Linked DNA regions of Homo sapiens: region 2 is linked to region 1. The links are contacts of gene promoters, found by promoter capture Hi-C in human tissues and cell types (Jung and others, 2019). All regions are on one chromosome and are shown on one strand. Each heading gives the region's core, a stretch centred on a gene start or on the middle of the fragment in contact. The rest is flanking DNA. Distances are from core to core; before and after follow the strand shown.

The links. The method cuts DNA at HindIII sites, captures the fragments that hold promoters and counts their contacts. A contact is called where the count stands out against the background at its distance.
Region 2: a contact is called between a fragment that was not itself captured here and the fragment with the promoter of LAMC1 in region 1, in 1 of the 25 tissues and cell types used here (bladder).

What each region holds. Positions count from the first base shown.
Region 1 is chr1:183,021,097-183,026,144 of GRCh38, forward strand. LAMC1 (laminin subunit gamma 1) reads left to right here and starts at 2,324. Exons shown (of 28, transcript NM_002293.4): 1 at 2,324-3,038. The coding sequence starts at 2,621. RefSeq lists enhancers at 1-283, 1,021-1,576, 1,577-2,131, 2,687-3,240 and silencers at 1,643-2,032, 2,063-2,452, 2,503-2,572, 2,593-2,732. The HindIII fragment of the contact is 13,956 bases long and covers 1-5,048 here.
Region 2 is chr1:183,162,846-183,167,813 of GRCh38, forward strand. No RefSeq gene overlaps it. Among named protein-coding and RNA genes, the nearest start is that of LAMC2, 21 kb to the right of the region's middle. The HindIII fragment of the contact is 8,064 bases long and covers 1-4,968 here.

The sequences.
Region 1 (5,048 bases), core at 1,074-3,573:
GTCTAAGCACTTAAGAACGTGCATTCAAAAGACTGGAGTTTTTTGAAAAACAGGGTAACCTGCAGTAAAAGAAATTCTTACACACTTTCACTTTTTTTCTTTAAATACTGTCTAGTAGACTGTGGCATCTCTAGGTGGCTAAAATAATTTGTCGATAACATCAAACATCTGGTTAGTGTTCAAATTTCTCAAATTGTCTTAAAAATTTTGTTTTAACCGTTGATTTGTTTGAATCAAGATCCAAATAACGGAGCAAAATTTTTATCATCAAGCCCACTGGCTGGTTACACTTTACCTCTTTTCAAAATAGATGTTTGTCACTGTGACACATTTCCATAAGCAAGAGAATTGAGAGATTAATTCAAGGTCTCTTTATGTGCTTTACAAATATCAGATAAGCTCTGGTAATTAAGTTACGGAAAATTCGCATAAGTAATATCTTGATGTTAGTCTTGGACATTAGGACTCAAAAGGCAGCAATGACAAACCCATTTATGTTGATTTCACAGCCTTTGGGGGTCTCCTTGTCTTTATTTTGATTGTTGGAAATAGAGACCCACGCTTTGGCCACTATATAACAAAGTACTAAAAATGTATAATAATGCAAATTCACTAATATGTTTATTAAAATATAAACAAGTTTATTACAAATCTGTAGCTTTATTCACAACTAACATCCTTATTTTTGTCCTATATGCCCACGTTTGTCCTCAAGTACAACGAAGGACTGAGAGAGCATATAATCCCCTCTAGGTGTAAATGAACGTATTTATTTCGCTTCAACTCATGTATGAAAGGATTAAAAAATTATTAGTCCCCACAACTTAATTCTCCCAAAGAGAAGGTGCCAAGAATGAGGCACCTTTAGCCATGCATAATCTCCACCCATCTCATCAAATAAACGGAACAGTGATGAACATAACTTGCTAAGTAAGCTCAGCCGTGTAACAAGACCCTAGATTCCCCTCCCTTCTTCATCCTACCAGAACATTATCCTTAAGGTTTTCCTAATCAGCAGTCTGCGTCTAACTAACCCTAACTATCCAGAGTCACCTAACATATACTTATTTCCTTGTTTCAGATTCCCATTACGCCTATCTTAATGGGACAACTGGGTCCGAAATTATGCATGTGTTTTTTTGTTTTGTTTTTGCGGTGTACTTATTATCCGCACTTTATCATTAAATTCCTGAAAAGCTAGAACAAAACAAATCCGTGTCATTCACTATGTGCATCCTCTCTGCTTGGGGACGCCAAGGGTTTCAAGCTGCTGCCTCCCTGCCCTGGTCTCTGCTTGCCGTATCCAGCACTGGGTAAGCGCCCAGGTTCTGCTCCGGGACTAAAACTCATGATCTTCTGGCTCAGGTTCTGTGAACTGAGTCATTCTGGCACTGAGAATATTCCGTGACTCAGCAGGCCCGAAAAGGAGGATGTCAGAATCCACATAATTTCGAGTCTTTTAAAGGCAAGCCGAGGAACACAAACAACACAGTGGAAGAATTTCGCAGTGGGTCGTGCGTACCCAAGGGAAAAATTCATTCCATTCCCAGCCTTTTCACTTCCTTCCTTGCCCCGGTAAAACGACTGGTTACACTTTAAATCAGCGGCAGGAAATCGCTTCACGAAACTCATCTGGCTGCTGCGACCAGGCCCTTCTGATTCTCCAGGGACCGTGTCGGCCCCATGAACGCCCCGGGACCTCTGTTCGGGAGGGGCTGGAGCGGGGCCCCGGGCAGCAGCGGGCGCTCCCGGTTCGGACCCACACCTGGCCGGGCGGGGACCCTCTTGCCGCAGCCCAAATTGGCGCGAGGCCCCAGGGACGACCCCGAGCGACCTCCTGACCCGGCATCGCCCCTCTAAGGCGCCCTCCCCCGACTCCTCCCGCAATCCGGAGTCTCCCAGGCCGCGGAGCCCAAGGACCCCAGCGACTCCCGCGCGGGGAGCGGGTCTGCGAGGCCGCCCTTCCCTCCCGGCATGCACCACCCAGCCGCCCTCCCCTCCCCTCCTCTCCTCTCCCCTCCCCTCCTCTCCCCTCCTCTCCCCTCCCCTCCCCCAACCCCCTCCCCCGGCTCCCCGCCCACCTCGCGCGCCCCTCCCCCCGGGTCGCGCGCCGCGGGCCCGAGCGCGAGACGCCGCTGCTCCCGCCCCCGCCGCCTCCTGGAGTCGCCGGGGCGGACGCGCAGTCCATGGGGCGCGGTGGGCCGGGGAGTTGCCCCAGGGGCCGCGGGAGTTGCTGAGAGGAGACAGGGTTGGGCTTTCTCCTCGCCCAGACCCCACCCCACCCTGCCGACCCCACCCCCTGCTCCTTCCTCCCCGGGGGCGCGCACTCGGGCACGCGCTCGGAAGTCGGGGGTCGGCGCGGAGTGCAGGCTGCTCCCGGGGTAGGTGAGGGAAGCGCGGAGGCGGCGCGCGGGGGCAGTGGTCGGCGAGCAGCGCGGTCCTCGCTAGGGGCGCCCACCCGTCAGTCTCTCCGGCGCGAGCCGCCGCCACCGCCCGCGCCGGAGTCAGGCCCCTGGGCCCCCAGGCTCAAGCAGCGAAGCGGCCTCCGGGGGACGCCGCTAGGCGAGAGGAACGCGCCGGTGCCCTTGCCTTCGCCGTGACCCAGCGTGCGGGCGGCGGGATGAGAGGGAGCCATCGGGCCGCGCCGGCCCTGCGGCCCCGGGGGCGGCTCTGGCCCGTGCTGGCCGTGCTGGCGGCGGCCGCCGCGGCGGGCTGTGCCCAGGCAGCCATGGACGAGTGCACGGACGAGGGCGGGCGGCCGCAGCGCTGCATGCCCGAGTTCGTCAACGCCGCCTTCAACGTGACTGTGGTGGCCACCAACACGTGTGGGACTCCGCCCGAGGAATACTGTGTGCAGACCGGGGTGACCGGGGTCACCAAGTCCTGTCACCTGTGCGACGCCGGGCAGCCCCACCTGCAGCACGGGGCAGCCTTCCTGACCGACTACAACAACCAGGCCGACACCACCTGGTGGCAAAGCCAGACCATGCTGGCCGGGGTGCAGTACCCCAGCTCCATCAACCTCACGCTGCACCTGGGTAAGCGGTGACAGCCCCGTCCCCTGCTACTGCTCGCCAGCAGCCCAGCTCCCGGACCGGCTCCGTCCCAGTGGCCGGCCTCACGGGCGCAGACGGCCGCGTGTTTGCTCTCTGTTCCCCGGCATGGGCCACACAGAAACTCCTTTCTCCAACTTCTTAAATAGATACTGCTTTTAACATCCCGTGAGGGCCAGGATGTTCCGCACGAGTCTCTCTGCTTTCCTGTTCTTTCTGACTTAACGGGATTCTGGCTCTCTGATTATTCTGCATTTCGGCTGTTAGGATTGTGATTTCCCCCTTTTTTTTCTGAAGCGTTAATCAGAAACTCCCATCCCCACTTTTCTCTTTGCTAGCAAGGTCATCACAGCGCATTCTTGGATCGGAAACAAGAAGGTCCGCCTTAAACACTTTCGCCTTTAAAATGTTTAGATGTCCTTCCAGGGCTGAGGGTGATTGCTCTGTTGAGTTAAGGGGGAATTTGAGGGGAGCAAATGCCTTCGCTGCCTATATTGCCTATGTGTAATTAAAACATAAATTCACTTTTGAAGTTATTGTTCTTTATAGCTGCTCAGCCTTAATTAAGAACCACAAAGCGATTTGACTGCTAATCCTGGTGCAGAATGAACAAAAGGAAGTGCACTCACTGTAATTGCTGGGCATAGCCTTGTCCCTGGGTAAAAAGGCTCTCCTTTACTGTCTTCCCTTTTGCTTTCATTCAAAGCAACTGTAGAAACACGTGTAAGTGATGTTTCAGAAATCAGGAAAGGGATGTGTAGAAAACTTCATGGCAGGGCAGTGGATTGAGGATGGACATATGTATCTGGAAGCACCAAAAATAATGTTCGGTCTAGCTAAGGTTTTCTTCATCATTGAGATACGTAAATAGGCAGAAAGTTTCATTATTGTGTTTAACAGAGGAATCTATGTGTGAGAAACACGTTTGACTTAACACTTCACTCCCCATTGCCTTGGAAGGCTTGATTATTACCAGTAGCTGGTACTAATGAACTTCCAGAGAGAACAGACTGCCTCAAGCCATTCTTCTGTCAAGGGAGGGTAATTTTGTAAGGCTAATATCACTTAGGGGTGTTGGAAAGGAACATGTTGTAGGCAAATGGTTCTTTTGATCATGATTTTGCTGCTCTCCGGTACACTAAACTTTATGTAAGTATCAGGATTCCAGAGAAAGAATTGGACTTAACAAAAAGTACTTTGAAAAGTGGGATTAAATTATTGTGTGTGGAATAAGTGTTAGAAAAGCAGAATTATTTAACATCTTATTTGCAGTTGAGTCATTAAACAAATGAAACATTTTGAAAATAATTTCATAAAATGATACTATGAGGTATCTGTTTTTCAGGGATTGAAGAAGTAAAGTGCACTGAGTTCAGTTTTTTAAAGGTGCCTTTCTGAAGACATAGCTAGTGACCGAGGATTTCCTAAGATCTGTGAGATTGCTCTTTATTTTCTCCTGTTATATTTTTTAAGTTGGCCAAAATTATTTTTGAAATGTGTATCTAAGTATTTCTGTTTAACTTTTGACTTGTTAAAGTTTCTGTGTTCAAGTTTGAATACTCTTGAAGTCTTATTTTTTTCATTTTCAGATTTTAAAATTTTCAAAGAAAAGGCGTTGCCTGATGTCTGAAATCTCAGATGCCTGAAATTCAATTGACAATTACTGAACAACAGTCTCTTATTTACATAAAGGTGGGGTTGTCAATCTTGGCTCTCAGAATTTTCTCTTGTAGGCACTGTGTAGCTAAAGGTTATTTAAGGTGATTTCAGAGGTAGATAGATTACTCAGTGATTACTACCCTGTTGCAAAGATAATGCGGTAGAGTAACCCAGTATCAGTTACGTTAGATTGCTCCCACTGGGAGGCAGATATGTTAACTTTGGGTCATGGTTGATTAAAAGGTCAAAAGAGATCTTAGAGTTTACCTCTAACATCACTTTTTACTATGAAATGTTTTATGCTTGGACTTGGTTTTGCTGAAATTTTCCTCAACT
Region 2 (4,968 bases), core at 916-3,415, 140 kb after region 1:
GGTTTTTGTGTGTCTTAGGAAATAAATCATTAGCAGAGTGACATGGGGGAGGAAGAGTGGAAGGTTTGAAGAAAAAGGGAAAGTGTGAAACGGTCTTTGAGGAGAACAGGAAAGCCAATGGACTGGGGAAATGGATCTGATGGCCAGGTAGTATTAAGAACCCCTTGAAGCTAATGAACGTGAATTCAAAGTGAGGCAGTAAGTTGTGGGTGTGTGTGAAGGATGGATTCTAATGACTAACCATGGAATTTAAAATGGGTTAGGAGGGCTATGATGGTAAAGGAAGGTGGGAGAAGTGCAAAGGTGGCAGGTTCAATGGATCGTAGGCTCCAGAGGGTTGAGATATTATTAAAGTCTGGGCACTCGAGTGACTGAGCTTCAAGAATCAACGGTGGTGATTAGAGACGGGGTGCTTGAAACTGAGGTTGTGGAAAAAGTACACGTGATTGAAATGGCACCATCTAGATGTGATCACAGTAGTGAGTAGCTGAAGTAGGTGTTTTACTAGATAATTTGTTTGGTTAAGTAATCACACTTTTCTCTCTTTCAATCCTGTCCCAGTTGAAGCCACTTCAGTACATTGTCCTGAAGTTTTATTTCTCAAATAAAGCCTAACGAAATATTTATTCACTTTGTCAGCCCATAGGCCATGAATGACACATCGTGACTCATGGATGTCCTGGCTCTTTGCATCCTGCACACAGACACATGATGGACACTTGATGAGACTCCTTGATACAAAAGGGTGGGTTTGAGTCCCACATGAACACTAGCGTGCATGCTTGGGGTTGATGAAGTACACTTGTGTAATTTTTGTAAAGCCAATGGTTTAAATAGGGATATCTGATTTACTCTAACCAAATATCAGATTACTGTATTTCCTTTTGTGGTTCCATGTGCATTCTGCAAACTAGCATTCTTTTAGTGTACCTCTGCAGGCAAAGAATTTGGAAACTACATACCTATAAAACATTAATCAAAGCCCTTAGATTGACTGGATCCCACCCACCACTCTCCCCGCTGAGCAATTGAGTTAATTAAAAGAAAAATATCTCAAGAATATAAGCTCATATCAATAATCTCATTTAAAAAAATAAACAAAGATTTCCAAAATTCCAAGTGAGCAAAGGGTGAGCAAAACTTTGACTTATACTGTCTGTATTAACTATAGTGCTGAATAAAAATAATGGTTAAGAATGAACAAGATCCAAAATCTTCCAGAAAGATCATAATAATCATGCTTTAGATAGTGGGTGACACATTGAGGACACCTAATTTGTTAAATGAAGGTGTGAGTGTGCCTAATCTGGAAATGAAGTGCCATACTTTAGAAAAATACTGTTAGCAGGGGTATAGTTGGCCAGAAACCACTTGCAACACCAACATGTTCTTCCCTGAACTTTCTGTGTAATGAAGGCAGTTCTCCATTTGCTGCATTTGTAGGAAATGGGGAAACTGAGGAGGCTCTGAAATGGCCATGAGAATTCTTTTTAAGAATCTTCACCACAATTACACTGGAGCTGTTCAAGGACTTTTTTCCTTCTGCTCATTTTAATGGCCTGAGATAATAGATCAAAATGAAGGCCTGTCCTCAGATGTGTATGAAAGCACAGAAGAACAGGATAAGACAGGAATCAAGGCCTCTACCACTGGGGAATGCAGGTTGCTATATACCAGGCAATGGGTGGGTTTCCAAGGAGATGTGTCAGAGCCTTGGAATGCTGCAACTGGGCTGTGCCTGACCCAAGGTGGGGGCGGGTGCAAGGAACCTGCTGGCACATTAGAGGTCTTTTCTTCTGGAGGCAAACTTTGGAGAAATGTACAACACTAGCCTATGTCTGTAAGTTCATGCTTTGGGAACAAAGTTTGAATTGCTTTCAGAGAAAAAAAATATACTGATGGGGTGAAGATAATGGTGGCTAATTTTGATCTGACCAAACAGATATAAAAACTACAGGCTGATCCAACAATAATCTTCTCCCATTTTCTTTCAAATGAGCAACCCTAAAGCATATACTTTTTAGTTTTACAAGGAAGGAGTCTCTCCAAGGAAAAGTTCAAGTGGATTTTTGGTTACCCAGCAAATTATTCTAATTAAGACATGGCTTTTATTCTAAAAATAATAATAATAATAATAATAAAAGGGTGTGTGTATGTGTATGATTTTTAAGAGCATGTTAATTCTAGGACAGTCTGAACATCTGTGTCTTAGGAGAGGCATGTTTTAGGAGATTGCCTCCTTTTGGAGGAGGGGCAGGATGCCTGCCTACAAAGGGCGCCCAGTGGCCTGGAACACCAAAAGCACATTCTCAGGGCATGCAGAGGTAACTGGTTGAAACTTGCCAAAGGATGCTTTTCCATTTGGCTCACAGCAATTCATTTATATTGGTTTTGACCATCCCACTCATTTTATTTTTAAGTCCTTATTCATTTTCGGGCCTTTCCGTATAGGGTTAGCAAGGAATTACTAATTCCGGATCTGCCCACTGTGACACTCAACTAGAAGATTAAGTCAGGTTTTAGAAACCTTGTTTTTGTCATATTTCCCCCATGCCCAGGCTTAAGAACACTCCAAATACTAATAATTACAGGAAATTCCATCAATTTGGGGGAATTGGCTTTAGACTATTTTTTAGTTGGTGTTCAGTGAAAATAAAATAATTCATTCAAGTAAAGACTAGATGGGAAAAATTACTTGAGGAGAAAAGACAAATCTCCCTTACAGAGGAACTACAAATAATTTATGTAGATGTTCTGCCCTCAAGGAGATGCAGGATAACTCACACTCCTTAAGTGTGGGCAGCACATAGCGAATTCCTCTCAGAGCACAGTATTGAAAAGGGCGGGGAGAGTCATGTTACCATGGGCAACACTACAAACTACTTCACCCAGGGGCTCCAGAGTAACCCCAACAGTGGGAAGTACTCTTGACACAATGAAATGAAAATGGCACTTGCCTCTGTGGTCTTCCTCACCAAAACTAGTAACCCTGTTCTATTATAATCATGAGAAAAACATCAGACAAACCTCAACTGAAGGATGTTCTACAAAACGCCTGCCCATTACTCCTCCAAACTATCAAGGCCGTCAAAAAACACGGACAGTCTGAGAAACTGTCACAGCCACGAGGAGTCTAAGGTGACAACCAAGTGTAACGTGATATCCTGGATGGAACCCCGGAACAGAAAAAGGACATTGGGTAAAAACTGAAGAAAATATGAAGAGAATACGAACTTTATTTATTTATTTATTTATTTTTTTGAGATGGAATCTCACTCTGTTGCCCAGGCTGGAGTGCAGTGGCACAGTCTTAGCTCACCATAACCTCTGCCTCCCGGGTTCAAGCAATTATCTGCCTCAGCCTCCCGAGTAGCTGGGACTACAGTTGCGTACCACCATGCCCACCTAATTTTTGTATTTTTAGTAGAGACAGGGTTTCACCATGTTGGCCAGGCTGGTCTTGAACTCCTGACCTCGTGATCCATCCACCTCAGCCTCCCAAAGTGCTGGGATTACAGGTGTGAGCCACCATGACCAGCCGAGAATATGAACTTTAATAATAATAATGTGCCAATATTGGTTTGTTAATGGTAACAAATTCCTAATGTGGGATGCTAGTAATTCCCCTAGTAATAGGGGAAACTGAATGTGCCATTTATGGGAATTCCATTATATTCTCAATCTTCTGTAAATTTATAGCTGTGCAAAAAAAAAAAAAAAAAAAAAAAACCTGTTTAAGGAAAAAATTACTTGACTGAAAGAGAACACTCCACCCACCCCACCCAACCTGCCACCCCTGCTTTCACAGAGTCAGCCTGATGCAGAAAGTCTAATCATGAATTGCGCAGTTCTGGGTAGTTGGAACCCTGTAAATATGGATCATGCAGCAGGCGATGTTGTGAAGAGAAGTATGTTTCAGAGCTCCCAGCTTCTCTGTTCTGGATGTGCTTCCCCCTTCCCCTGCCCTGCCCCCATAATGATAAGGCTAATACTTACATAGTATTATGTAATATGTAGCCCATGTATTGCCTTTCTCCTTCACAGCAGCCAACACTATGGAATAGGAGGGTTCTATTAGCATTACTGTATCCATGAAGAAGATGAGACCTAGAGAAGTTAAGGACCTTGCCCAAGATCCCTTGCCTGTAAGGATGGAGCTGGGATTCAAATTCAGACAGCCTGGGCCCCAGAGCCAGTGTGCTTTTAACCTTTGTCATTGGTCTACTTCCCTCCCTCATTCACTTCTCTTCCAGGTATTCAGAGGCTCATACTTTCTTTAAGCAGGATTATCCTTAGTCTAAGAATGGTCAAGTTTACTACAACCCATGATGTCAGCTGTACTGTGTAGACTCCATCAAGAAATAATAGATGTGGAGGTGGGTGCTTGGAGCAGGGGAAAAGTGCCACTCTATGAAGTAAGGCCTGGTTAAAATTATAGCGTTGGCCCACATCCTACACTCCGATCACCGCAGGACCTGGATGATACTGAATCCCATCCTATAGTCAATTCTAGCTGTAAAACTAATGTTGTTCCCATCTGATGTCTTGGAAACAAACCAGCACTGGGGCATTTTCAAGTGGTTTCGATAATGAGCATTAGTAAACCCACAGGTGTGCCTAAGTGAGGATTTGTGAAGCTGAGCATACTTTCCCAACCCTACATTTCAGAAAAGTTGGCTCCCTTTTATTTACAAAACGAGGTGGAATTGGATGTACTAGTCCAAATGAAGAGAAATAGGTTCTCTTTCATGTTTGAAAGAGATGTACATAAGACTCTAAAAGATGTACATAACAATAAGTTATTAAAAATAGCAACTTCTCAAACCCTGCCCTTTTCCATAAATTTCTTTAAACAGTCAGAAAGTTCACAATTTAATAAAGACTCTCAGAAAGGCTAGTCAAGGAATAGGCCCATTCAGTAACTTCATAAATATAGGGGGTTAAAAAATGAAATCTTCCATGATGACT